Linked DNA regions of Homo sapiens: regions 1, 2, 3, 4, 5 and 7 are each linked to region 6. Evidence: promoter capture Hi-C in 16 types of primary human blood cells and fetal thymus (Javierre and others, 2016). All regions are on one chromosome and are shown on one strand. The core of a region is centred on a gene start or on the middle of the fragment in contact, and the rest is flanking DNA. Distances in the headings are between cores, read along the strand shown. Region 1 has its middle 6.6 kb from the start of SNORD50A. Region 2 overlaps NT5E (5'-nucleotidase ecto). Region 3 holds the start of NT5E (5'-nucleotidase ecto). Region 4 overlaps IBTK (inhibitor of Bruton tyrosine kinase). Region 5 has its middle 4.1 kb from the start of IBTK. Region 6 holds the start of CYB5R4 (cytochrome b5 reductase 4). Region 7 has its middle 3.3 kb from the start of SYNCRIP.

Region 1 (3,607 bases), core at 813-3,312, 1.8 Mb before region 6:
TATTTTTCATAACTGAAGGCCATACCATCAATAAAAACACATTGAGTACATTAAAAATATGGATATGAGCAGTAACAAAAATATAGGCCAAATAACATCATTATTATTATCATCATTAATTATTTTAGAGACAGGTTCTCACTCTGTCACCCAGGCTGGAATGCAGTGGCCTAATCATAGCTCACTGCCACCTTGAACTCTTGGGCTCAAGGGATCCTCCCACTCAGCCTCCCAAATAACCAGGAGATCCTCTAGCATGTGCCACCAAGCTCAGCTGATTTGTATTACTTTTTATAGGGATGGGGTGTCACTATGTTTCCCAGGCTGCTCTTAAACTCCTGACCTCAAGTGATCCTTCCACCTTGGCCTCCAAAAGTGCTGAGATTACAAATGTGAGTCTCCTCACCAAGATGCTTTTTTTTTTTTTTTTAAGCAGTGAAATGAGAGCTCACTGTGTAGCCCAAGCTGGTCTTGAACTCCAGACCTCAAGTGGTCTTCCTGCCTCAGCCTCCTGAGTAGCTGGGATTATTGATGTGAGTGGCCACACCTATACCAAATAATTTTAATCAACCACTTTTTTTTTTTTTTTTAAGACAGAGTCGTGCTCTGTCGCCAGGCTGGAGTGCAGTGGTGCCATCTCAGCTCACTGCAACCTCTGCCTCCCGGGTTCAAGTGATTCTCCTGCCTCAGCCTCCTGAGTAGCTGGGACTACAGGCGCATGCCACTACGCCCAACTAATTTTTGTATTTTTAGTAGAGACAGGGTTTCACCATGTTGGCCAGGATGGTCTTGATCTCTTGACCTCGTGATCTGCCCACCTCAGGCTCCCAAAGTGTTGGGATTACAGGCGTGAGCCACCGCACCCGGCCCTAACCTGTACTTTTGTATAAAAGTAGTTGATTAAGGCCGGGCACGGTGGTTCACACCTGTAATCCCAGCACTTTGGGAGGCCAAGGTGGGCAGATCACTTGAGGTCAGGAGTTCGAGACCAACTTGGCCAACATGGTGAAACCCCGTCTCTACTAAAAACACAAAAATTAGTCGGGTGTGGTGGCACGCACCTGTAATCCCAGCTACTTGGGAGGCTGAAGCAGGAGAATTGCTTGAACCCAGGAGGCAGATGTTGCAGTGAGCCAAGATTGTGCCACTGGACTCCAGCCTGGGTGACAGAGCAAGACTCCGTCTCAAAAAACAAAATAAATAACAAAAGTACAGTTTGGGAATTGTTGCTAATAGTTGATTAGTTTAATTGCTTCAATGAGAACATAAAGCATTAAACACAGTAAACTACTCTGGAGCAATAGTAAGGTGTACTCCTTGAGATACATCGTAATTCTGACTTGAATTTCATTGCTGATGGAGATTCTGAGTTTATGTTACATTTCTTTTTCGAAAGTGAATGTACACTGACTAGCCCTTAAAAAAAAGAAAAAAAGCAGCCGGGCGTGGTGGCACACGCCTGTAATCCCAGCACTTTGGGAGGCCAAGGCGGGCATTATCACTTGAGGTCAGGAGTTCAAGACCAGCTTGGCCAACATGGTGAAACCCCATCTCTACTAAAAATACAAAAATTAGTCTGGCTTGATGGTACACACCTGTAATCCCAGCTACTCCGGAGGCTGAGGCAGGAGAATCGCTTGAGCCCAGGAGTTGAAGACCAGCCTAGGCACAGCAAGACCCCATCTCAAGAGAAAGAAAGAGAGAGAGAGAGAAAGGGAGGAAGGGAGAGAAAAAGAGAAAGGAAGGAAGAGAGGGAAGGAGGGAAGGAGGGAGGGAGGGACACAAACATTGTTCTGAGTTTGGCCTCATGCCCAGAAACGTCAGGATAGTTTTGAAATTCATGGACTTGTCCCCACATATTGATGTAGCTCACTTTCTTGAAGGATATTGCTTGCTTTCAATTCAATCTGTTCCTCAGGAGATTGAACCATACTGATAGACTAAGTGTGTGATGATTCAGAAATATACCAAGGTTTGCATTCATTTGTTCATTGAGCAAATATCCTGAATGCCTACCATGTATAGGTACTATCCTAGGCACTAAAGATACAGTAGTGAACCAAACAAAAACCTCTGCCCTTGTGGAGCTTACATTGTAGGAAGAGGAGAAGGACATTATATAATAAATAAATTATAAGCTATGTTAAAAAATGAGAAATGACACAGAAAAAATAGAATATGAGACATTGGGAGTGGGTTTGGGGAGATAATTAGTGTTGCAGTTTCAAATGGGGATTCTCTCATCTGAGAGGCAATTGAAGTAAATGGGGTTGACAGAATAGGCTTCAATGAAAAGTTGAGATTAATTAAGCAGAGATTTAGATATGTGCATAGCTCAATCTCTCACCTAACAGAGGGTGAGAGATTGATCTGTGCATATATCTGGGAAAAGGGCATTTCCATAGCAGTGGCCCATAGGAAGGAGCATGCATAGTGAGAAAGGAAGCAAGGCCTGCAGCTTATGTAGGGCTTAATGGGTCATTGAAAGGATTTCATTCTTAGTCAAATGGGAACCACTGTGAAAGAAAACACAGAAACTCCAAGTATGATTCATACACATCAAAATCTATGAACCCTACCCCTAGGGCCCAGATTGTGGCCTCTAAATACCACTTACCACTAAAAGGAAACAGATCTGAGACAGGAAATGTACAAGATGAGCTTGTTGTACGTTGCTATAACAGGTAGCAAGACTGCTGGAGTTGTGTTAGAAGAACTCAGGAGGCCAAGCACGGTGGCTCACGCCTGTAATCCCAGCAAGGATTACAAAACAGGCAGATCACTTCAGGTCAGGAGTTTGAGACCAGCCTGGCCAACGTGGTGAAACCCCATCTCTACTAAAAATACAAAAATTAGCTGGGCATGGCGACGGGTGCCTGTAATCCCAGCTACTCAGGAGGCTGAGACAGGAGAATTGCTTGAACCCGGGAAGCGGAGGTTGCAGTGAGCTGAGATCTCGCCACTGCACTCCAGCCTGGGTGACAGAGGGAGATCCATCTCAAAAAAAAAAGGAACTCAGGAGTAAACTTGGAGAGTCTCTCACTTTCCAAAGATAGAAAATTTGACTATTATTGAGGTGTAATAGAGAAAAAATAGAGAAAAAGACATGTCTTCAAATCTATGAATTCAGAATGATACTTTAAAAAACTGAATTTAATATAAGTGTTAAAGGATGCTAATCATCAGTTTCAGAACTGCAAATAAAGGGACTTTCCAATACCAACTGTACTGACATAACCAAATAAAAGGTGATAAAAAGTTTGTCTTTATTGATATATTCCAGTTAACAATGAAAAAAGATTGGCATAATTAGAAGATCATCATTTTGCAACATTCTAATGAATTAATGTATAGGCAATAAATATCAATGACTGCTAACATCCAAAAAAGAGGTGATAAGATATTATATGTCCCTGAAGAAAGAATTTGCCTCTGCCTATTTCAGACTCTTGTCTGAAAACAACAAAAATGAATATGAATTTGATAAAGCCTCTGGATATAATTACTAATTTATAGATTACAAAGACATATGTTAAACTACATTACAAAGATACAATCAGCAAAATCCAGACTATGGAAAACTCTACAAATGATTTCTATAACAAAT
Region 2 (3,863 bases), core at 1,013-3,512, 1.6 Mb before region 6:
TCTGTAACTCATAGGCAATGTTGAAAAATCAAGAGTTGTAGTTTTGCCACTGTTGTCTATTATGAGAACATCAAGGACAATCTGCTTCCTGTTGGTTGCCCCAAGAAGCCCAGGGCTCCCCGTTGACCCTCAGTGCTATGTTGCCTTCTATGTGAGCCTTTCCTTGAGCATCTCTTTGAAACAACAAGGTATACCTTCCCCCCTGCTGCACTTGCCATTCCCCTCCTGCTTAATTCTTCTCCACAGCCTTAGCACCTTCTGACATACCAAACCATTTACTCATTTATTGATTCCCCCACTGAATATGTAAGCTCCAGTGGGCAACTTTTTTTTTTTTGGTCAGTATCCCTGGTGCCTAAAACAGTGCCTGGCACACAGACAGGTACCCAGGGGAATGACTAAATGTCGAGAGTATGCTACCATCTTTTGCTTAAGGTATGGCTGCCAAGAAGGAAAAAAAATTCAGAGAAATGCCTCTGAGGACAAAGGAATGTATTCCTCTATTATATCAGAAACCTCACAGGACCAGGCATCCCATATATACAAAGCATGGCTTATATTTCAAGATGTCATGAGGAGAGTTGTATTTCAGGTATTTAATGATCTAGCTAAAATAAATTAGATTAAATGTGCTAGAAATACAGGTTATAACCCTGTGGGTGCCCAGGCCACTAGGACTGGGAGAACTGGGCTTGATTAGGGTCAAAGAACTGTAGGAAGAACCCACACCAGGCCGCTGGGCCTGTAGTCTTGGAAGAAGCAGTGCTCCTGGAAACATTCTATTCCACCCCATCCCTTTCCCCCCACACTGGGCCCTGCAAAATGCAGCCCTCTCTTCCAGCAGCTGCTGGAAACAGCAGTGTCACTTTTGATCCCCTCTCTGTTACAGCCTGGTAAAGGGCTGGTCAGAGTCCCAGCTGGGGCAGTTTGATTTCTGGAGCTGCTGTGCCTTTCCACCAAGACCTGCACCTCCTACCTCCTTATGGGTGCCTTTTAAAGAAGAGACAATGCTTTCCTCCAAATCACACCTGAACTTCTCAGCCCTACAATCTAGCCCTGATCCAACTTTCTAGCTTTTCCTAGTCAGAACCCATGCTCCAGGAAATGGAACTATCTGCTGTTCTGTGACTGTGGCCCCTATACCTTCCTGCTCTCATGTATTCATCCCAGCAATGCTTCCTGAGGACTTATCATATGCCAGGCACTGTGCACAGTCATTGGGCAATAGTGAGACAGCAGAGGTTTCTGTCCTCATGGAGCCTGCATCCTAGCTTGTGACTCTGACCTCACTTCTGGAATGTCCTGTGCCCCAGGGATGTTTTACACAGCTCTCAAGGGGACCAAGGAGGTTCTTCAGCAAGTAAACCTGACCCCAGGGTGGGGTTGGGGGGTTCTTTAGCAAGTTCTCTCACTCTTCTCACTGACCACTCCAGCCCCAGCCGCTCCACCCTGCCTCCAGCTCTGCCTCTATGCCAGCTGCAGGACCCGCTTGCTGCTCTCAGCAAACACAGCTGACTTTTCTGTTGTTGTTTCCAATGGCCTGGACTTATTTATTTTATAACAACAACAACAGTAAATATATATTTTTGAATTGTCAATTATATGTCCTTTATCAGTTAGTTCTTAATGAAAACTCATGTTTCTAGATAACCCTGGCTCCTATTTTCCCTTTTTTTCTTCAAATATGGAAACACATTTAATTTGGATAATTTAAAGAAAATGTCATTTTTGTTCTCATTGCCAAAATATTCCAAAAAGTTTTCTTATAAAAGTGCCTCAAAATAGTTTCTTGAAGGGTCTTAAGATTATATATGTGTGTGTGTCTTATATGTATGTATGTATATGTGTCATATATGTATGTGTGTGTCTTAAGATTATATATATTATATATACATATGTGTATATATGTCTATAAATGTATATACATACACTTATATATATCCATATATATCATAAGACCACTATATATATTTCCCAGAAAGTCAGATACAAGAATGTCATTAAAACGAGATGAATAATGAAAAGCGAGAAAGGTGAGTTAGCTGGACATGTAATAATCATCCTAGAAAAGGAGCAATAAGGTAAATTGAGGTAAAACTCTGGCTCTGTGCTCATGGCTCCACAGGAGAAGGGCAGTGAGTTTTGAGGCTCTCATTCTCTAGTAAATGAAACTGTACTGTTTAGCACTGGCTATACATTGTCTCCTCTTCCCATTTTGAAAGCACTGAATTAGACAAAGATACTGTTTTTGTCAACAAAGAAGTTCACTGAGCAGAAGAGGACATCTCTTTAAGAAGTACCTTGGAACAACAGCATAGAATTTACCAGATTGCTTTTATCAGTGTTATTCTAGTGCACTATTTACCCAGTTGTTCCTACTTTTATCTACAGTCCATAAATATAATGCCAAGCTGTGATTTAGGGCATCTATTTTCAAGCATTGAGTGCTATAAAAGTAGAAAATACCTGGATTTGAGAGAAAAGGGGTTTCTTTGGAAGTGTATCCAACGATTCCCACAACTTCATCACCAACAGGAAGAACTTTATATGGCAAATAAAGTCCTGATATTTGAGATGCTAGTGGCCCCTTTGCTTTAATGTTTGCACTCAGAATTGGAAATTTGGCCTCTTTGAGGAGTGGCTCGATCAGTCCTTCCACACCATTATCAAATTCATGATTTCCCAGTGCCTAGATAAAACAGAAAAGAGAAAAAGAATTAGGTGCTTTAAAAACATAACATTAGTCCAGTATTTCTCAAAACTGACTAAGCTCTATGAGACATATTGCATGATTTTGTGTCCTCCTCACCTGGGTCAGGCCCAGGGACATTCAGATCATCACATTGCTTGAGAATTGCTACCCAGGTGTCACACCACCTAATAAAGGTGGTTTGCCAATGTGCATACGCAACACCTGGAGAGCTGGCCAGGGGTCCACTGTCCCACCATCTCAGATTGGGGGCAGGTTTGAATGTTCACATTTACCAGCCTCTGCCCAATTTTTCCATGTTGTTTTTCTCTCATAAACCCACATTTCAGACCCCATGATTCAAGCCGCGATCTGCTGGAGAGAATGATTAACATCAGCAGGACTTTAGCAAAAGGCAACCTGAAATGTATGGTTGGCAGAGACCAAAGGCCTCCTTCCTCATTTCACCTCCTAGGTCATCATTCACCTAGGTTGCCACAATTGCTTCTTCCCAAGCACTCCTGTGGTCCTCTAATTCTTCTGGGAAAATGAAGTTCCTCAATAGCAGGCAGGAGCTAGCATCTCCATATGTTCCAGTGTGGCTCTGGCTTCCTCCTCCAGTCAGCTCTGGGCACCCTTTGCTCCAGTCCCAGCAGTTTCACATCTGGGGAAGAACTCCATGGTGAAATGATTAGGTGACCTTCAGCGGGTTCTGTACCTGCTCCCAGCGCAGGGCTTCAGGAGGAGCAGGGATGGTGACAAGCAATCCTTGTTTCCCACCTTCTTATCTCTCTCCCATTCCTCACTGGTTGAGGAGTGGCTGCTGGGTACAAAACCACCCATTGTCTGTCATTTTGCAGCTCCCCGTAGTGAGTTGGGGGCTGGGGGGGAGTGGAGGGAATCCATGCAGAGGCCCCACTGACAAAGCATGACATGTCAGCTGGCTTCCCAGAAAACCTTCCTCTCCTTCCTCCATTGGCCTCCTGGATACACCCATCTCCTTGGGCCCCCTACCCTACCTGCTCTGGCTGCCAAGGCTGGTTTGCTAACTTAGTACTTAAACCAGCAAATCTCAGACTTGCTAAATACCACATCCAGTTTCGTTTCACTTTGTGGGTCATCTAGGAACAGGCATGAAGTACTGGCTGGTGACCCGTCCATTTAAATGAGGGCC
Region 3 (4,021 bases), core at 409-2,908, 1.6 Mb before region 6:
CTCATATAAAGTGTACTGTTAGCCTTCTGTATCCCAGCCTAATCACACTTCCCTTTCCCTTCCACACTTGTGGACTTCACAGATTTCTCTGGACGTTTCTCTGGAGATTTCTCAGTTCTTCCTCTTCCAAAGCTCTTTTTTCTTCTCCCAAGTTTCTCCACAGTCTTGCTGAATCCCTTTACTCAAGGCTTTTACACAGGGTTAAATTTGGGTGGTGGTTTTATTTTTTTTTTAACCACCATATATACATCTTGGTTGTACTTATTTATTACTGTGCAACCACCTCTGCTCCCTTTCTAGAATTTAGTGCAATAGAAAAGGCATTACCTTTAACCTAACATTTGGGACTTTGAACTAAACTTTTGCACATGTTTTAAGAGCCCATTATCTCTTAAGTTGGACTCTTCCTAAATCTCTGCCGCCAAACCTACTTTATTGAAATCCTTTGAAACCCAAGTCTTTCCACATTTTGGCTCTCTCTGAAGTTTCTTTCTTTCTTTCTCTTTCTTTCTTTCTTTCCTTTTCTTAACCCTATATTATAGTGTCTGGTAATAACAACATATATAGACACCACACTATGTGTCTGGTAATAATATAGAGACCACACTATGTGCACTATGTACAATTATAATCCTTATTTTTATACAGGATAGAACTGAGGCAAGAAAGAGTAAATAACTTGCTCAAGGTCACATAGAAGGTAATTGAACAGAGAATCTACCCCAAAGCTGTGAGCTTAATTACTCTCAAGCTCCGGGGTCAAAGAGATCTGGTGTCCATTCTTATCACGTCTCCCTTTTTGCGGGGATGGTGCCTGTTAATTTATTCAGCTTCTTCGACGCGGTTTCCCTTTCAATAAGATTGAGATAAAGCATTTTTCGAAAGATCTAGATTGAGATAAAGCATTCTTTGAAAGATCTAGCAGTAAATGAGAGCTGCGTGAGGGATCCGATTCAGTCCCTAGCTCTGGATAACTGTCAGTGCTTCTACGCACCCCACCTTAAGCCCCTCGCAGGCAGGACTGGGTCCTGCTCCTCTAAATACTCCCATCTCATAGTGGGGGCGCAATAACGTCCGTTTAAGACGAATCGTCCAAGGGACTTCTATGCATCCAGCTGGCACACTGGCCGGAGTCTCACTTTATCCCCACATCTCTCCGCGCCCTGGACCTAGGCTTGCCACACTCTGCCATCCGCTGCTTTTCCAGCCCGGCTCCTCTCTCAGTCCGGGACTACTATCCCGGGCGCGGGCTCGGGTCTTACCATGGCATCGTAGCGCAGGGCGTTCATGAAGTGCGCCACCTCGGCGCCCTTGTACACGGTGAACCAGATAGTGCCCTGGTACTGGTCGCCGGCGTCCAGCAGCAGCACGTTGGGTTCGGCGCGGCGGATCTGCTGAACCTTGGTGAAGAGCCGAGCCACGCCACCCATGCAGCGGCTGGCGTTGACGCACTTGCTGGAGTCCTCGCTGGTCTGCTCCAGCCGGCTGTGCACGTCGTTGGTGTGCAAAATCGTAAGCTCCCAGGCGCCAGCCGCAGGCCACAGCACCGCGCCCAGGGCGAGGAGTAGCGTCGCGGGCGCCCGCGCGGCTCGGGGACACATAGCTGTGGCGCGTGAACTGGGTGCGAAAGCGGGCGAGCCGGGCGAGTGCCGGCGAGTAGGGGCGAGCAGCTAGGGCCGGGGCTCGGTGCCCCGGCTGGAGGGGCGGGGCCCGGGTCAAGGCCGGGGCGGGTCCTTCTTCAGCCTGGAGGCCGGCTTGGCGGCCAGGCGCAAGTTCGCGACGTCACCCGATCCGACCCTGGTACCCGGAGCGGCCCTGGCGCGGCTGTCGGCTGGCACCAGCTCCCTGCAGGAAGAGTGGAGAGGTTGTTCCCGGCGGGGAGCGGGTACCGGCCGCATCCCGGCCGGACCAGGGAGCCTGGGCGCCGGCAGTTCGGCTGCTGGTGCGCCGCTCTTTCGGGGGCGCGAGGAAGGAATTGGAGGGGTCCGCCCCGCGCCTGGGTCCTCTCTGAGTCTCGCCTCATTCGAGGCACGGGTTTTTCTACAAAAGGAATGTATGGTTTGTGGTTGCGCTAGCTCATCACTTCAAAGAACCAAAGAAGGAAAAGAGAGGGGGCGGGAAGAAAGATGAGCGAGCTGAGGGGCAGAGAGGAGGAGTAAAGAGAGGCCGGGCAGAGGAGCTCCTTGCAGTTTCGGGCTGTGAGAGCCGAAGCTCACTGAGATGTGACGCTTCCTGTTGGGTTGAGAACGCACGAAGTCTACGATGCTTAGACAAAAAAATCTCAGAAACTAAGAAATCATTCGAATCCAGTTCCTTGTTTATTCACAATTAAAACCTTAGTGATAAAACAGAGGCGACGCGCGGACAGCTCCTGGAAGCAGAAACACGATTGGGGTAAAATCCGGCAGCTATCAGGACGGGAAGGGATGCTGCCCTTCTTTGCTTTTCTGGTCTTATTTTATTTTATTTTATTTTTATTTTGTCGCGTGTGCTTTCGGTGTCGCAGTGAAGTCATAGCCAAATACAATGTTAGGAAGATTTTCCTCTATGTTTTCTCCTAAGAGTTTTATAATTTAAACTCTTAGACCTTTAATCCATTTTGAGTTAATTTTCATATGTGGTATGAGTCCACATTTACTCTTTTTCATGTGGATATCCAGTTTTCTTAGTACCATTTGTTGAAAAGACATTCTGTGCCCGTTTTTAAGACATTGACCTGAGGTTCGGAGATTGTAAATCATTTGCCAAGAAAGGCCATGCAGTTTGGGAGCAGCAGTGCCTGGGGCTACAGAAGACCCTTGCTTCTGGGACACCCTCTAATGTCATGCTTTGCAAGGTTTTGCTCTGTCCCTCTTTGAGCACCTGCTAGAAGCAGGTAAAAGAACTGGTAGTTTTGCTGTTTTAACTTAAAAAAAGAATGATTTTAGACTTACAGAAAAGTTGCAAAGGTAATAAAGGGAGTTCCCACATACCCATCACCCATATTGCCTTATGTTAACAGCTTATATAACCAATGAAACTAAAAACTTAACAGTGATACGAAACTATTAACTGTGTTACTGATTTTATTTTAATTTCACCAACTGTTCCACTAATGTCCGTTTTCTATTCCAGGACCCAATTCAGGATACCATATTGCAGTTAGTTTTCCTGTGTTCTTAGCCTCCTCTAATCTGTGACAGTTTCTCAGTCAGTTGTCTTCAAAAACCTTGACACTTTTGAACAGTACTGGTTTCTGTATACTATCCCTCAGTTTGGGTTTGTCTGATGTTTTCTCATGATTGGACTGAAGCTGTGGATGTTTAGGAAGAATGCTACAGAGATTATGTGCCTTTCTCATTGCCTGGTATCTGTGGGTACACGGTATCAACATGACCTATCACTGATCACTGGGGAACTGATCATTTGTTGTTTCTTGTCTTTTAAACCTAAGCCACTGCAATAGTTTCTGAAATTCCTGTTCTGGGGATGCTACCAGATTTCTGCTTCAATATCATTTCCATGCCATTTGTTTTCATATACATCTAAAATGGCCTTTGATTGTTTATTGCACCAAGTTCAAGCTTCGCAAACTGGCATTTTGAAGTCTCATTTTATCCAGCCAACTTTACCTTCCACTGTTCCTCACACATTCCCTTTGTCCTCATTTCTTCTCTCCAAACCACCATTTCCAGTCTGTCCTTAGGCCAAGGCCCGGGGTTCCTTTAATTTCTTGTTCAAGTCAACATGAAGTTCCTTTGACTTCTTCACACAGCAGTGAGTTTTTCTCTTTTCTAAATTTCTGGTCAGTTCCTACAATCTCACTTTAATGTGGTTTTACTTTTTTTCTCCAGGTGTTTAATGTGTGTTTTTGGTCTTCTCCCCAAGCAATGGAAACAGAGTTGCTGCTTCAGTGGTAGTAGTACTTGCAATTCAAGTAACACTAACTTAAAATCTACTTTAGACACAGTGGGCGATAGTATGAAAGAACCAAGAAGGATTTCGGCTGTCCTGGAGCTGATAATGCTGCAAACAAGGTGAG
Region 4 (3,621 bases), core at 785-3,284, 1.6 Mb after region 6:
CTATAACATTTGTAAATTGCACAGTAAATTGTCAGTTTCTTAATGCCAAAGATATAAAACCTTAGCAGAAACTTGTTGCCTACAAAAAGCTGGAATAGAGACAGATTATCTTATGTAGCTCTTTTGGGGCTTCTTGATTCCATGACAGGATGCATGGCTGGTAAAGACTGTTTATGCTTGTGGAGTCCTGCTGTATCTGTTGTTGCTAAACCATTGCTCTTTTATACTGGTGGTTTACTTACTATTCTGGAAGAACTTGCTTTAATTTTTCCCATTTGTAAACAGAAGACTTCACAGAATCATAGGTTATATGGATTAAATAATATACTGTCTGTGAGGTATTTGGAACAAATATTTTTTGAGTGCCTGATATGTGCCAGGCAGTAATCCAGGTGCTAGGGATATTGCAGTGAACAAGACAGAATCCCTTCTTTGTTTAAGTTTTTATTCTACTAGGGGGAGATAGACCAAAACCAAAACCAAGCAATTAAATTAATGAACAATGGCCGGGCATGGTGGCTCACAACTGTAATTCCAGCACTTTGGGAGGCCAAGGCGGGCAGATCACCTGAGGTCAGGAGTTCGAAACCAGCCTGGGCAACATGGCAAAACCTCATCTCTACTAAAAATACAAAAAGTAGCTGGGCGTGGTGGCACATGCCTGTAATCCCAGCTACGGGGGAGGCTGCGGCAGGAGAATCGCTTGAACCCAGGAGATGGAGGTTGCAGTGAGCCGAGGTCACGCCATTGCACTCCAGCCTGGGTGACAGAGCAAGACTCCGTCTCAAAAAAACCAAAAAAAACAATAACAACAAAAATTAATGAACAAATAGGAACATGCTTGATAAATATTGATGTATTAGAGTTATTTTTGCCTGCAACTGGAACCAACTATGGTAACATAAACAAAATATATTGAAGGGATATCAGATACCTCGCAGAATAAACAGGTCATCAACAATTAACTGTCAAATTATAAATAAGAAAAAATTCCTCAAACTAAAATAGAGTAAGTATAAACTAAATAAACTGATTTGAAATTTTATGTCTCTCCTTCTCCAGATAATTTTTTTTTGTTTTTTTGAGACGGAGTTTCACTCTTGTTGCCCAGGCTGGAGTGCAGTGGCGCGATCTCGGTTCACTGCAACCTCTGTGTCCCGGGTTCAAGTGATTCTTCTGCCTCAGCCTCCCAGGTAGCTGGGATTATAGGCATGCACCACCACACCTGACTAATTTTTGTATTTTTACTACAGATGGGGTTTCAGCATGTTGGCCAGGCTGACGTTGAACTCCTGACCTCAGGCGATTCATCCACCCACCTCCCAAAGTGCTGGGATTATAGTCATGAGCCACTGCGCCCGGCAGAGTGTGGCTCCTCAAATGCAAGAAGAGTTAAATGTTTATGTTCAGATGCACTCCCACACAGACACAAACCCAGAGCTAGGGACTTGTAGGGACAGTGTATTTATGGGGTATTAAAGGGGTATCAGAAATGCTTTATTGTTAAAAATGTTCACATGGCCGGGAACGGTGGCTCACACCTGTAATCCCAGCACTTTGGGAGGCTGAGGCGGGCTGATCACGAGGTCAGGAGTCCGAGGCCAGCCTGGCCAACATGGTGAAACCCCATCTCTACTAAAAATACAAAAATTAGCCGGGTATGGTGGTGGGCACCTGTAATCCCAGCTACTCGGGAGGCTGAGTCAGGAGAATTGTTTGAACCTGGGAGGCGGAGGTTACTGTGAACTGAGATCGTGCCTTTGCACTCCAGCCTGGGCGACAAAGGCGAGATTCCGTCCCCCCTGCAAAAAAAAGTTCACATGTAGTTAATTTTTATTTAAAATGTTAATTTTTTATTTCTTCACATTTTCTGATTCTTCCTTATTCCAGCAAGAGTCGGATATGTGATTTTTCTTAATTATTCTCTGCAGTATGTGAGAGAAAAATGTGTGTGAATATGAGAGATAATCATTATTAAATTTTTTTTCAGTGTATTTATGGGGTTGATTATCTGACTTTTTGATACATAAGAATAGGAAGTCGGCCAGGTGTGGTGGCTCAGCCTGTAATCCCAGCACTTTGGGAGGCCAAAGCAGGTGGATCACCTGAGGTCAGAGGTCGAGACCATCCTGACCAACATGGAGAAACCCTGTCTCTACTAAAAATAGAAAATTAGCCGGGCGTGGTGGTGGATGCCTGTAATCCCAGCTACTTGGGAGGCTGAGGCAAGAGAATTGCTTGAACCTGGGAGGTGGAGGTTGCGGTGAGCCAAGATTGCGCCATTGCATCACTCCAGCCTGGGCAACAAGAGCGAAATTCTGTCTCAAAAAAAAAAAAATAATAATAAAATAGGAAGTTACTGATGATATAGGTAATTAATAATATATATATATTTATGTATTTGTTTGTTTGTTTGTTTTAGCATGGTGTTAGTCTGTATATTCAAGATAAAGAAGGCTTGTCAGCTTTGGATCTTGTAATGAAGGATAGACCAACTCATGTAGTATTCAAGAATACTGGTAAGAAAATTTCACAAATGGGCTGGGCGCTGCGGCTCACACCTGTAATCCCAGCAATTTGGTAGGCTGAGGCAGGCGGATCACTTCAGGTCAGGAGTTCGAGAATACTGGTAAGAAAATTTCACAAATGGGCTGGGCGCTGCGGCTCACACCTGTAATCCCAGCAGTTTGGTAGACCGAGGCAGGCGGATCACTTGAGGTCAGGAGTTCGAGCCTGACCAACATGGTACAACCCCGTCTCTACTAAAAATACAAAAGTTAGCCGGGCATGGTAGCAGGCAATCCTAGTTACAGGCAATCCTAGCTCCTCTAGGCAATCTTAGAGGCTGAGGCAGGAGTATTGCTTGAACCTGGGAGGTGGAGGTTGCAGTGAGTTGAGATCTTGCCACTGCACTCCAGCCTGGGTGATAGAGCTAGACTTCGTCTCAAAAAAAAAAAAAAAAAAAACTTTACAAATGTATTCCATTAAGGTGCAGCTTAGCTTAGAAAATTTTAATGAAATTTTATTCTTCTTAAAGTAGTGGGGAAATTTATTTGTGTGTGGCTATCTGCAAAGAAATTTTACTTTGGTATATGTTGGATATTTTTTGTTTCATATTCAGAACAATTTTATTTTGCATTTTAAAATTTCAATCCATATTTATGTCTATATAAAAGTACAATCTAAAATGGGAGGACTGTTATAATTGTAACTACTGTAAAGTAATTGATATATACTCAGAAAGTAACATCAGCATTGAGGTAGAAGGAAAAAGGAATGTAAATTTTTATTCCTTTTGTTATTTTTGAGATAGGGTCTCTGGAAATTATCATTATTTTTGTGGTTGTTGTTGAGATAGGGTCTCGCTTTGTCAGTCAGGCTGGAGTGCAGTGGCAAGAACACGGCTCATTGCAGCTTCAACCTTCTGAGCTTAAGCCATCCTCTCACTTCAGCCCTCCAAGTAGCTGGGAATATAGACCCATGCCACCATGCCCAATTAATTTTTTTTTTTTTTTTTTTTTTGAGACAGTTTCGCTCTTGTTGCCCAGGCTGGCGTGCAATGGCGCGATCTTGGCTCACCGCAACCTCCGCCTCCCGGGTTCAAGCTGAGAGGCTCTCTTC
Region 5 (4,207 bases), core at 1,492-3,991, 1.6 Mb after region 6:
CTTGCCTAACCTTCTGGGGATGCAGCCCAACAGATCTCAGCCTCATTTTACCCAGCCCCTATTCAAGATGGAGTCACTATGGTTCAAATACCTCTGACATCCCCCTACACCAGTCAGAAGTTCAGACCTCCGGAACTCCTGACTGATTGGCTTCAAGTTGGGGTTCCCATGACTCCCTCTTTGAGTTCTATTAATTTGCTGGAGTGGCTCAAAGAACTCAGGAAATAATTATATTTACTGTTTTTTTGTTTTGTTTTTGTTTTTGTTTTTGTTTTTTGAGACAGAGTTTTGCTCTTGTTGCCCAGGCTGGAGAGCAATGGCATGATCTCTGCTCATTGCAACCTCTGCCTCCCGGATTCAAGCGATTCTCCTGCCTCAGCCTCCCGAGTAGCTGGGATTACAGGCTTTTGCCACCATGCCTGGCTAATTTTGTATTTTTAGTAGAGACGGAGTTTCTCCATGGTGGTGAGGCTGGTCTCGAACTCCCGACATCAGGTGATCCGCCTGCCTCGGCCTCCCAAAGTGCTGGGATTACAGACGTGAGCCACTGCGCCTGGCCTACTGGTTTATTAAAAAGGATATTGCAAAGGATACAGATGAAGAGACGCGTAGGGTGAGGTATGAGGGAAGGGACGTGGAGTTTCCATGCCCTCCCTGTGTGTGCCACCCTCCAGGAATTTCCATGTGTTCACCTATCTGGAAGCTCATGAACTCTGTCCTCTTGGATTTTTATGGAAGCTTCAGGACATCAGCATTCCTTCCCGCAGGGTATAGGGTGGGACTCTCTCGTGGGAGGGTCTTAAGACCCAGAGTCAGAAAGGTGCGGAAACTATGGAAGAAGGGCAGGAGAAGGTCAGAGGCCTGTTCCTGAGGTCTAACATACCCAACTTTATAACAAATGACTGTAACAAGGGCTATGGGAGTTATGAGCCAAGAGCTGTGGATGAAAACCTATATATATATCACAACACCACAGGCTGTTACTTTTTCCCAATCTAGCCTCTTATCCACTTTTCAAGGACTCTTCATAAGTTCTGGACCTTCAATGGCCAAGGTTCTTGTTTTCCAATGCACTGATAAGTTTAAGTATGTTAAGTATGTTTTCTTTTCTTTTTTTTTTTTTTGAGACAGAGTTTTGCTCTTGTCGCCCAGGCTGCAGTACAGTGGTGTGATCTTGGCTCATTGCAACCTCCATCTCCCTGGTTGAAGTGATTCTCCTGCCTCAACCTCCCGAGTAGCTGGGATTATAGGTGTCTGCCACCATGCCCGGCTAATTTTTGTATTTTTAATAGAGATGGGGTTGTACCATGTTGGCCAGGCTGGTCTCAAACTCCTGACCTTAGGTGATCTGCCTGCCTTGGCCTCCCAAAATGCTAGGATTACAGGTGTGAGCCCCCACACCCGGCCTAAGTATGTCTTTTCTATCAGTCCTAGGGATTTATGGCATGAAGAGAAGGCTCCAACCACTATGTATCAAACTCACTCTTTTTCTTTCTTCTCTCTCTCTCTTTCTAATAGTGACAACACAGATTTAATTATTTAGCTAAGTAGAAAAGGAATAGGAGCAATTCTCAGTAAGATGGGCTGAGAAAGGCAAATGATACATTTTTCAGTCATCGTAAAGGGAAGACTTTTAGGAGTTCAGTGTTCTGATTGTAATAGAATACTAAGCCTGTTAAGTTTATAAGTTTGATTTATCTCAAAGTTCTGCTTATTTCATCTAGGCTTTGAATTTACCTTGAATTTCTCCAGTATTTGCCTTGAATTTCAGATTTTTTTGGTGGACTATGCTTTTAAACATAAGATTCTAAAGTTACATTCAAATACTGCCACCTTGTGGGTTATTCTTTGTTTCCCCATCCCACCCTTTAATTTGGTGGAAACAGATTCATCCAGGCAGTTCATTTCAGGTTATGTCAATTAAGTTGCTAAGAGTTGTACTAAGAGCTTCATATATATAATATATACATTATATTATATATATATATAAAATCTCATTTAAACTTCTTAAGAACTTTATGAAAGCAATACTATTAACCCTATTTCAGAGATGAGGAAACTAGGCTTAGAGGGTTTATGTAACTTGCCTGACATCTCACAGATAGTAAGCATAGGAGTAAAACTTTATATCTGGGCACCTTGCCTCTAGAATCCTTGTCTCCAGGAGTAAAACTAACAAATCTAAAAATAAAACAGTGTGATACATTATATGACTAAGTGATAGAAGCAGTATAAAGGGAATAATTGCTAGGAAAGGCCATCCGGAAAGTCTTCACAGATATGTGGGGAGGTGACCCTCTGTAAGTAAGGATTGGAAAGATAATGATTCTATAGGAAGAACGCAGCTGGGACCATACACCTGAATCCAGAAGAACACAAACACCCTATGTGGCCTATTGTTTTGTCTGCCTCACCCTGCTTTCTTTTGGGGAACTACTCTTCACTCTGCTTTAACCATGACTCTAATAGAGGATGTCAATCATGTTATCCTTGATTCCTCACCTAATCCAAGCCGACATGAGTCCGTCAGGTGCCTAGAACTTTTGTGCTTGAGATAATAGGCTCAGTGCTATCTTCCCTAATGGCAAACCTGAGGTGAGATATGTGATTTATGTGAGGTACTTAATTTGTGTGCCAGAAAGTTGTAGTCAACCAGTGATGTCCTGTAGAAGATGGTGTGGAGTAGAAGAGAATGAGGCTAAACAATAAGGTTCCAGTCATCTCTAGGCCAGCTGCACTATTGATCTTCCTCTAAAAATCATTCTTGTAGAACCTAATCAGGTTTGGGTTTCTAATCAAATTCTAGTGTTTTCTCTTCTGCCACCAGCACTGTCATTTCCTACTCCTATACAACTTGAAAGACAGCAAAATACACATAATGATGTCAGTACTTTTAATTATAAAGGATAGTACTACCAATTTATTTTGGAAAAATGGTATTTAGGGAGTTTATTATAGATGCCATGTGGCTTAGAAATATTTCTGCAGTGCTCCACTCTTGATGCCTGTACTATTCTTTTTCTACTCCCTCCGCCCATCACTGCAATCTTTTTATTTATTTATTTATTTATTGAGACAGAGTCTCGCTCTTTCACCCAGGCCGGAGTGCAGTGGCGCTATCTTGGCCCACTGCAATCTCCACCTCCCAGGTTCACGCCATTCTCCTGCCTCAGCCTCCCGAGTAGCTGGGACTACAGGTGCCCGCCACTGCGCCCGGCTAATTTTTTTTGTATTCTTTAGTAGAGATGGGGTTTCACCGTGTTAGCCAGGATGGTCTCGATCTGCTGACCTCGTGATCTGCCTGCCTCGGCCTCCTGGGATTACAGGCATGAGCCACTGTGCCTGGCCCATCACTGCAATCTTTTAAAGTCATCTCTGGTTTTTTTATTTTTTACTTTAAAAAATAAAACTACTTTAGAAACTCTAGTCAATTATTTTTCCAAACTTTGATTTTTTTAATCATTCAAGTAATATTTAAATTATTGCAATGAAAATTACAAAAGTCAAAATGATAGAAATTAAGAATCACCCATAATCCCACCATAGAAACAATCATTGTAGATATATTTTGACCTATTCTTTCATGTGTAAACACAAAATTTTTTTAAAAATCAAACAAAATGGCTCATTTTGATTTCTTCCTCCCTTAACCACATCTACAATATATTTTTCATTTAATTGTATTTCATTTGTACTATTTCCTAATTATTTTAATATTTTGTCTTGCAAATAACCAGTAAGTACTTTTGAAAGCATCTAACTTTCCTGGGAAAAGGGGAGCAATTCTACATTCCTTTGACTGGAATGTTATTTCTTTCCTGCTTCATCTACTTATCTCCTCGTTATCTAGTTATCTGAGTTATCTTCTGCTCAGTCTTTAGTTCATGTGTCACATCTTTTGGAAGTCAGATAAATCTATCAGATTAATACTTATAAACGTTGCAATTTATTATGCTTGGGAATATCTGGGTCTACATGTATTTTTGTTCACTGTTGGATCCCCAATGCTTACCACAAATTGTCCGAGACCTGGTAATTTTAACTTTTATTTATTACTATTTTTTGAGACAGGATCTCACTCCGGTTGCCTAGGCTGGAGTGCAGTGGCGTTATCTTGACTCGTTGCAGCGGCGTGATCTTGACTCACTGCAGCCTTGATCTCCTAGGGCTCAGGGTATTCTCCCACTTCAGCTTCCTGAGTAGCTGG
Region 6 (4,227 bases), core at 1,135-3,634:
ATTAACTGGCAGATATGGTGAAAGAATCTAGGTCTTTCTCACTTCAAAATCTGTGCCTTTAAAAAATTACAATAAGCCTTCACTTAAGCTAGTCACTAGGTGCTTGGAAACTAAACTATGTACAACGAAACTAATTTTACCGTGGGTTAATTGACAAACAAAATTTCCTGCAGCATATTTCTGGTCACAAAAACATCACCAGACTTCTAAATAAAGACCAAAATACTTCTAATATTAAACACTGAAAGAAATGTTAGCTATATATACATTTAAGAAAGATTAATTAAAAAACAAGTAAGATAATTATTTACCCAACTATTCCAGTTCAATGTCACAGGTAGTCAGAGCCTATCCCAGTAGCTCAGGGCACAAGGCAGGAACCGACCTTGGACAGGATGCCATCCTATGGCAAGGCACACTCATACACACCCAATATTCACACAGACTGGGACCATTTAGACACACCAATTAACCTAACTTGCATATCTTTGGGCTGTAGCAGGAAACCAGAGTACCCAGAGAAAACCCACGCAGACACAGAGCATGCAAACTCCAAAGACAGTGGCCCTGGCCAAAACGAATTTTTTTTCTCATCAATATTATAACTAAATGCTGTTGAATGAAACAACACTATTTGAGAACCTTTTGTATAATACACGACCTTCCCAACTTGGTTCTATTTTCTCAACCTCTACCCATTTCATCCAAACCTGACTCAGTTTTTACATTCTCAGCATCATCTTGTTTCACAAAGAAAAGAGGAAGAAGACTGGAGTCTGACTTTTCCTTAGAATTGCACAATAATCTTATTTTGTTCTCTTTTTGGACCAAAAACTCACCTTTGCCATCGCCCCCTGTGTGACTTTTTGTCTTTGCTTCTAAGTTTTCTCCTTTAAATGGATGCTAAGAACACAGTTGGTATTTTTAACGAAGAAGGGCAGTAACTCATATTCTAATTCAGAGATTCTTTCTGGAAAGACTGTTATTCAGTCAAGTATTTAGCTTCAAGAAATAGGTCAAAAACCAATGAGAAAAATATACATGATTGGATGGCTAGATGATTGATATATGAATCAGTAAATGAAATTTCACAGCAGAACCACAACACAAGCCTACGCAATTTAGGGCAATATTTCTTAGCCAGTTTCCTTTTCTGCGAAATAGAGACAATAAAAGCTTTCACTTCAAAGGATAATTGTGAAAATTAAAGTTAATACATGCAAAGCACTGAGAATATACACGGCCACCCGTAAGTACTTAAGAAATCTCTGGAAAGCTAATGAAAACCACAGATCCCTGAACCTATATTCATTCTGAACTAGAATCAGAACGCCAGGTCTAAGTGGAGAAAAATAAGAAAATCGATAAGGGTTCCAAACGATGCTAAGACTCAAGAGTTAACCGAGTGGCCCAAGTTAAGTGGAAGTGTCACAAACGAAAGATAAAGATATGGTTACAGAATGAGGAACTAACAAATAGGAACAAACAACATTCGCAAAAGAACAAAGAACACAATTTTTATTGAATTCTGCAAATATAAAATATATCTGTACAGTATTCCACCTGTTGCTAACAGCAACTGTGCTCAACAAGAACTCAAGAGTATTATTATATTTGCTTCGAAGTTAGCAAGTGATACTAGTAGAAAAGGCAATGACAAAACAATCAGGTACCAGAGGAAGAAAGAAAGGCAGTATGTCTTGGATAGTGTCTGTAAACCTGACCTAGCTCCCCAACTCCAGAAGTCCCCATCCTTGCACGGACGGTCACTGTCGCCACTGCCAAGCCTTTCCCTCCTGCGAGGGAACCCACATCGAGTGATGTGGTACAACTCCTTCAGGCAGTGAAGAACAAAAGACCAGGGAGAAGATGAGGTTGAGGGAAGGCGGCTAATACCGAGAGCCTATAATACCGCAAACACAGTGCCTGGCTCTGTCATATAAATTTAAATCGCGGGAAAGGACTTGGAGGAAGGGAACGGATAGAGCGGGATAAAGGACCAGAAAGAAGAGGGACTGCTAGGGGAAAGGGAGGAGGTAAGGAGAGTTTAGGGACTGTAGACAAAGTGGGATCAGAAAGAGGTTGCAGGCAAGGACAGCAGGGAACGACAGCTTAGAGAGGGGTGCAGGAGCTGGGAGTTGGGGCGGAAGAAGAGAACACACTGCCAGAGCTCGAAACGCAGCGAGGGGAGAGACTCACGGAGCCACCCGCTTACCTTGCTACGCCCCCCGGAGGCGACACGCTGCTGCGACCTGGGGGCCGGGAAAGACTGGGAAGGGACGTTCAGCATCTTCAAACCCCGGCCCCGGGCCCTGCCCGGGGATCGCCGCCAGACGGGACAGCACCTCCAGCTCCGGCTCTGTGGCCGGGCAGAGGCCAAGCCCCCGACCCACTTCCGGGGTCGCCAGGGGTGAGGCGCATTCTGACGCAGCACGTCCGCGGAGGGCGGAGCCAACGGGACGGAGGGAGGGCCGGCAGGGAGGAAGTACGCATGCTCAGCTAGTTCCGCATCCCGAACTTCAGCACCGGAGCAAGGTGACAGCTATTTCGTGGAAAGATTAGAGAGTGAAGCTGTTCCTTAGCCTTGGTGCTGACCGAATGTGGGAACAAATTCTTAGTCCTGTTAACCCGGAACAGCAATGTCTGTTCATTGTTAAGCAGTACCATCACACTACTTGAAATATGGACTAAAACACACTACTTGAAATATGGACTAAAACGAATTTTAGTTTCTCTGAAATTCTTTCCTGTAAGGCACTAGGCTGTAATGCAAAGAGCATCTCACACCTTTAAGAGCAAAAATATCAAATGTCAACAGCCACTACTGTGGGGTAAGAAGAAAACCTCACCTTTAATCATCCTTAAACTTCACCTTTAAGCATGCTGAGGGCTAATGAATGCGCGAAAGACGTTAGTAAAGTCACCTTCTGCTCTATTCACCCACTCACAAATTCTCCCTCCTTATGTAACTTCCTGTCTTCACTGGGAATTGTGTACTGATGCAGCTCACCTCCAGCTGTGGTGATGAAGTAACGTTTAAAAGTCAGATTTGGTTTGCATGCCATCCCTGCACTTAATGACTGAGCTGTCTTATGCAAGTTACTTTAGTATCTCAAAGTCTCATTTTCCCCATCTGCATAATGGGTTTATTAAAGATTAAAGGATCATGTGTAAACTACATACTGCAGTGCCTGATTAATATTAGGTACTGAATAAGTGGCAGTGGCTGTTTGTGCTATTCCAACATATTAATGGGAAAAGGACCAACACTGTGCAGGTAAACACCAGGCTCTAATGCTCAAAATCTGATGGTTTTTGTTTGTTTGATTGATTGTTTTGTGTGTCCCTTGGGGAACACATAGATCTTGAGAGTAGAATCCAATAAGGGAGAAAGTTTTCAGGAGAAGAAACATAGTTCTAAATAATCCTCCCCATCCTCCTTTAATTACTAATTTTTCCTAACTCTGAACATATTGTCATGCTTTAAACTTTCTCTGTTTAACTACTTAGTTCTTAAAGTGCCTAAAAAATCAAGGTTATGTTTGCAGAATCAGAAGAAAAAGTGTGTGACTATATGTGGCCATTCAAATACAAGCATTCAAATAAGGTAGCCACCTATGACATTCACCTCTATCCATTTTTATTTGCAATTGAAATGCTTATTATGAGAAGACTGAATTTGAGCTAAAAGAACCTCATGACTATAATTAACTGTATTACTTTGACTTTGCAAATTGCTTCTGTGTTCTCTCTCATTAAATGATGACATATTCTTCTAGAGTCTACACAAGAAAAACTAATCACTGAGATTTATTTCACTTCTCGTGAGAAAACTTTTACATAAGAATATCAAAAGCAGAGAACCAGAGCAAGGAAAAGTTAATATTGTTGAAGAATGTTCCATGCTTTCCAAATTTCTTAGCTCCCCTTTGTACAGAAATGGAAGATGCTATCAACTTCTGGCCTTTAGACTCCACTTTTTTAGACTCCATATCAATCACTCAAATTTAAACGTTTTGTTTTAATTCTAGGGATCCCTCAATGTAGTACATTAAGTATTAAACATCCATACTATTTTACTACTGGATTTAAGGACTGAAGAGGAGTATTAAAATATGAGTTACTTTGCTCATCATTTATTTAAAATATCTATAATTTAAAAGCCCTAAGATTGATTCCCTTTTTCAATTACAGGTAATGATTTAATGTGTTTTTCTCCATCTGCTA
Region 7 (3,781 bases), core at 1,252-3,751, 1.8 Mb before region 6:
TTTTCTGTTATCCATTCATCCATCAATGAACACTTGGGTTAATTTCATATCTTGGCTATTTTCTCACTGTTTTAATTTGCAAGTCCCTGATGACATATGATATTCAGCATGTTTTCATATGCTTATTTACCATTTGTACATCCTCTTTGGTGGGCTATGTGTTTAGATTTTTTGCCCATTAAATTTTTTTTTTTGCCAGGCATGGTGGCTCATGCTTTTAATCCCAGCATTTTGGGAGGCTGAGGCGGGTGGATCACTGAGGTCAGGAGTTCTAGACCAGCCTGTCCAAAATGGTGAAACTCTGTCTCTACTGAAAATACAAAAATTAGCCAGACCTGGTGGCAGAAGCCTGTAATCCCAGCTACTCAGGAGGCTGAGGCACGAGAATTGCTTGAACCCAGGAGGTGGAGGTTGCAGTGAGCCAAGATTATGCCACTGCATGCCAGCCTGGGTGACAGAGCAAGACTCCTTCTCAAAACAAAACAAAACAAAACAAAAAAAACAAAACATTTTTTTTTTGTTTTTTATTTGCCTAACACTTGATATCAACGTTTTTGCCAATTTTTCAATTAGGTTGTGTGTTTTCTTATTGTTGAGTTTTAAGAATTCTTTGTATATTTTATTGAATAACAGCCTTTTATCAGATATGTGTTTTGCAAAGATTATTTTTTTTCCCTAGTCTGCGGCTTGTCTTTTCATTCTCTAGACAGTGTCTTTCTTGGAACAAAAGTTTTTAATTTTTGATAGGGCAGGCTTTTTATTACTATGAAAATAAGATGTGAGAGATAGTGCCGCCGGGCGCGGTGGCTCACGCCTATAATCCCAGCACTTTGGGAGGCTGCGACGGGCGGATCATGAGGTCAGGAGATTGAGACCATCCTGGCTAACACGGTGAAACCCCGTCTCTACTAAAAATACAAAAAAATTAGCTGGGCGTGGTGGCGGGCACCTGTAGTCCCAGCTACTCCGGAGGCTGAGGCAGGAGAATGGCGTGAACCTGGGAGGCGGAGCTTGCAGTGAGCCGAGATTGCACCACCGTACTCTAGCCTGGGCAACAGAGCAAGACTCCATCTCAAAAAAAAAGATGTGAGAGATAGTGCAAAAATTTTCTTGATTACTAGAAAGATTAGGTTGAATGGCTTCCATGGTCTCTTTCAACACTAGCTTTTTATGGTTCTATGGAAAAAGTAATGGTGTGCTGTGAATTTTTACCCTGTGAATTGAAGGGTTCCCTGGCCCATTATAAAATTAATATATGTTAATGGCAGGAAGTTTAGAAAATGCAGTAAAGAAGAGAAGAAAATATGCAAAAAACAAAACAAAACAAACAAACAAACAAAAAACAGTGTGGCAGTGTGGCATTGACTGGGTGGAAGAATTTTGGATAAGTAAAAAATCCAAACAGGCCTGCCTACATTCCTCTCTTTCATTAGTTGCCAACTCAACAGGGCTGCATCTTCTCACTGTTTCAAAGCTTACATGGACGAAAAGACAGCAATGAAACTAATGAATACTCTGTCGGGAGCAGTGGGTCACGCCTGTAATCCCAGCACTTTGGGAGGCCGAGGAGGGTGGATTACCTGAGGTCAGGAGTTCGAGACCAGCCTGGCCAACATGGTGAAACTCTGTCTCTACTAAAAACACAAAAATTAGCTTGGTGTGGTGGTGGGTGCTTGTAATCCCAGCTACTCGTGAGGCTGAGGCAGGAGACTCGCTTGAATCCAGGAGGTGGAGGTTGCAGTGTGCTGAGATCCCGCCACTGCACTCCAGCCCGGGCAACAGTGTGAGACTCCGTCTCAAAAACAAAAAACCAAAAAACGAGCCCTGGCGCAGTGGCTCACGCCTGTAATCCCAGCACTTTGGGAGGCTGAGGCGGGCTGATCATGAGGTCAGGAGTTCGAGACCAGCCTGGCAAACATAGTGAAACTCCCAACTCTACTAAAAATACAAAAGAATTAGCCGGCCATGGTGGCGGGCGCCTGTAATCCCAGGTATTTGGGAGGCTGAGGCAAGGAGAATCACTTGAACCTGGGAGGCGGAGGTTGCAGTGAGCCGAGATCACGTACTGCATTCCAGCCCGGGCGACAGTGCGAGACTCCGTCTCAAATAAAAAGAAATGCCAGAATCAAGGGAAGGCCAGGCTGAAGCCATAAAGTGGCTGAGATGAGCTGGGGAGACAGGTGGGACAGATCTTAGAGAGCTTTGTTGATCTAGTTAAGGATTTTGGCTGTTGTTCTAAGTGTAATTGGAAGCTAATGAAGGGTTTTAAGCAGACACGCCATAGGATCTTACTTGCAATTAAGATAGAGAAGGTCAAGGGAGGGAGAGAGCCTACACAGGAGACAGAGAGTCATACAGAAAGACAGATGACTTGGGCTTTGAACAGATTAGGACAGCTGTAAGAGTGGATGAATCAGGAGGCTATGCCATTAGTACAGGTGGTAGATGATGGTGGCTTTGCCTGGGTGGTTGCAACATAGAGATAAATGGAGATATATTTGGGAGACAGAATTGATAGGACTTGATTAACTGATATGGCAGTGTAGAGAAGGAAGTGCCTTGAATGATCCGCTCCAGCAATTCATGTGGGGGATGTTAATTGAGATGGGAACTCTGTAGACGGAAGACTGGGGGAAGATCACGTGCTCAGTTTCTTGAAATGCCCATCTGGAGTGCCAGAAAGCCCACATAAACATTGAGGGCGTGGCTAGAGAAAGGAATTAGATGTCAGAGAACAGCTAGAGATTTTAATTTGGGAGCTTTGCCCAGGTTAAGGCACTTTAAAAAATTTTTTTTAATACCCAGGAAGGTCTAAACAAAGTGTTACATGTTTCAGACTCATTTTTATTCTTTTTTTTTTTGAGACGGAGTCTCGCTCTGTCGTCCTGGCTGGAGTGCAGTGGCGCGATCTCCGCTCACTGCAAGCTCCGCCTCCCGGGTTAACGCCATTCTCCTGCCTCAGCCTCCAGGGTAGCTGGGACTACAGGCGCCCGCCACCACGCCTGGCTAATTTTTTTGTATTTTTAGTAGAGACGGGGTTTCACCGTGTTAGCCAGGATGGTCTCGATCTCCTGACCTTGTGATCCGCCCGCCTCGGCCTTCCAAAGTGCTGGGATTACAGGCGTGAGCCACCGCGCCCGGCCAATTTTTATTCTTGTTTAATCCATGGTATGACTCTTATTTTCATAGTTTTCTATTAAACATTTTGTTTTTCATGTATATCATTAACCACGACCTCTGCATTGTGAACAAAAATCCCTATGGCTGAAGCAGCTGAATATCACATATGTTTGATAGTAAGGAATCTGGGGTGGTGGAGATCTCAAATCCTTACTAAACAGGTTGGCTATGTGGTGCTTTGGCTAAAACATACTTCATATCTGATCCAAGTAGCTATGAAAATAATCTAGCATTTTATGTGCTTGTGCACTTTGAAGAGTGTTTATCTAACTTTTCCTCAAACCACTGATTTGTTATCATAGCACAGAGCTCATCTGGGGAACCAGTAAGCTCTTAAAAATAAGCTTTTTAATCAAAAGGACATTGTTTCTATTTTTCATTACAGCTGCCCTGGATAAAATTAGTATCCATATCGCGTCTGTAATTCAAATGCCTTTGTCTTGTCTTTCTTGTACCTAGTAAACGATTATAAAGGAAACGTCATTTCACAGAAGATTTAGTTGCCAAGGTTTTTTTTAAAAGAAACACAGACATTTTTCTCAAAGTTGTTCTAACCACGCAGCTTTGTGCTGTTTCAAGTTGCTCAAACTGTGCCAGGAGG

Evidence for each region. The method cuts DNA at HindIII sites, captures the fragments that hold promoters and counts their contacts. A CHiCAGO score of 5 or more calls a contact.
Region 1: a fragment that was not itself captured here is called in contact with the fragment with the promoter of CYB5R4 in region 6 in 1 of 17 cell types (naive CD4 T cells); the score reaches 6.3 in naive CD4 T cells.
Region 2: a fragment that was not itself captured here is called in contact with the fragment with the promoter of CYB5R4 in region 6 in 1 of 17 cell types (naive CD8 T cells); the score reaches 7.5 in naive CD8 T cells.
Region 3: the fragment with the promoter of NT5E here is called in contact with the fragment with the promoter of CYB5R4 in region 6 in 2 of 17 cell types (naive CD8 T cells and naive B cells); the score reaches 9.0 in naive CD8 T cells.
Region 4: a fragment that was not itself captured here is called in contact with the fragment with the promoter of CYB5R4 in region 6 in 1 of 17 cell types (total CD4 T cells); the score reaches 7.2 in total CD4 T cells.
Region 5: a contact is called between a fragment that was not itself captured here and the fragment with the promoter of CYB5R4 in region 6, in 4 of 17 cell types (total CD4 T cells, total CD8 T cells, non-activated CD4 T cells and 1 more). The highest score is 7.2, in total CD4 T cells.
Region 7: a contact is called between a fragment that was not itself captured here and the fragment with the promoter of CYB5R4 in region 6, in 9 of 17 cell types (total CD8 T cells, naive CD8 T cells, fetal thymus and 6 more). The highest score is 12.0, in total CD8 T cells.

Annotation. Positions count from the first base shown.
Region 1 is chr6:85,668,950-85,672,556 of GRCh38, reverse strand. No RefSeq gene overlaps it. Among named protein-coding and RNA genes, the nearest start is that of SNORD50A, 6.6 kb to the left of the region's middle. RefSeq lists a silencer at 360-560 and an enhancer at 2,826-3,347. The HindIII fragment of the contact is 8,939 bases long and covers 1-3,607 here.
Region 2 is chr6:85,465,886-85,469,748 of GRCh38, reverse strand. NT5E (5'-nucleotidase ecto) reads right to left here. Exons shown (of 9, transcript NM_002526.4): 2 at 2,467-2,689. Among named protein-coding and RNA genes, the nearest start is that of NT5E, 18 kb to the right of the region's middle. The HindIII fragment of the contact is 5,061 bases long and covers 1-3,863 here.
Region 3 is chr6:85,447,720-85,451,740 of GRCh38, reverse strand. It overlaps NT5E (5'-nucleotidase ecto), which reads right to left and starts at 1,658. Exons shown (of 9, transcript NM_002526.4): 1 at 1,263-1,658. The coding sequence starts at 1,601. RefSeq lists a silencer at 1,596-1,865. The HindIII fragment of the contact is 6,289 bases long and covers 1-3,565 here.
Region 4 is chr6:82,233,057-82,236,677 of GRCh38, reverse strand. IBTK (inhibitor of Bruton tyrosine kinase) reads left to right here. Exons shown (of 29, transcript NM_015525.4): 3 at 2,423-2,519. Among named protein-coding and RNA genes, the nearest start is that of IBTK, 13 kb to the left of the region's middle. The HindIII fragment of the contact is 6,415 bases long and covers 1-3,621 here.
Region 5 is chr6:82,249,755-82,253,961 of GRCh38, reverse strand. No RefSeq gene overlaps it. Among named protein-coding and RNA genes, the nearest start is that of IBTK, 4.1 kb to the right of the region's middle. The HindIII fragment of the contact is 4,001 bases long and covers 741-4,207 here.
Region 6 is chr6:83,857,846-83,862,072 of GRCh38, reverse strand. CYB5R4 (cytochrome b5 reductase 4) reads right to left here and starts at 2,384. Exons shown (of 16, transcript NM_016230.4): 1 at 2,216-2,384. The coding sequence starts at 2,290. All of the region lies in intron 3 of RIPPLY2-CYB5R4 (RIPPLY2-CYB5R4 readthrough), which reads right to left. RefSeq lists a silencer at 2,264-2,313. The HindIII fragment of the contact is 3,476 bases long and covers 1,179-4,227 here.
Region 7 is chr6:85,644,258-85,648,038 of GRCh38, reverse strand. No RefSeq gene overlaps it. Among named protein-coding and RNA genes, the nearest start is that of SYNCRIP, 3.3 kb to the right of the region's middle. The HindIII fragment of the contact is 2,050 bases long and covers 1,477-3,526 here.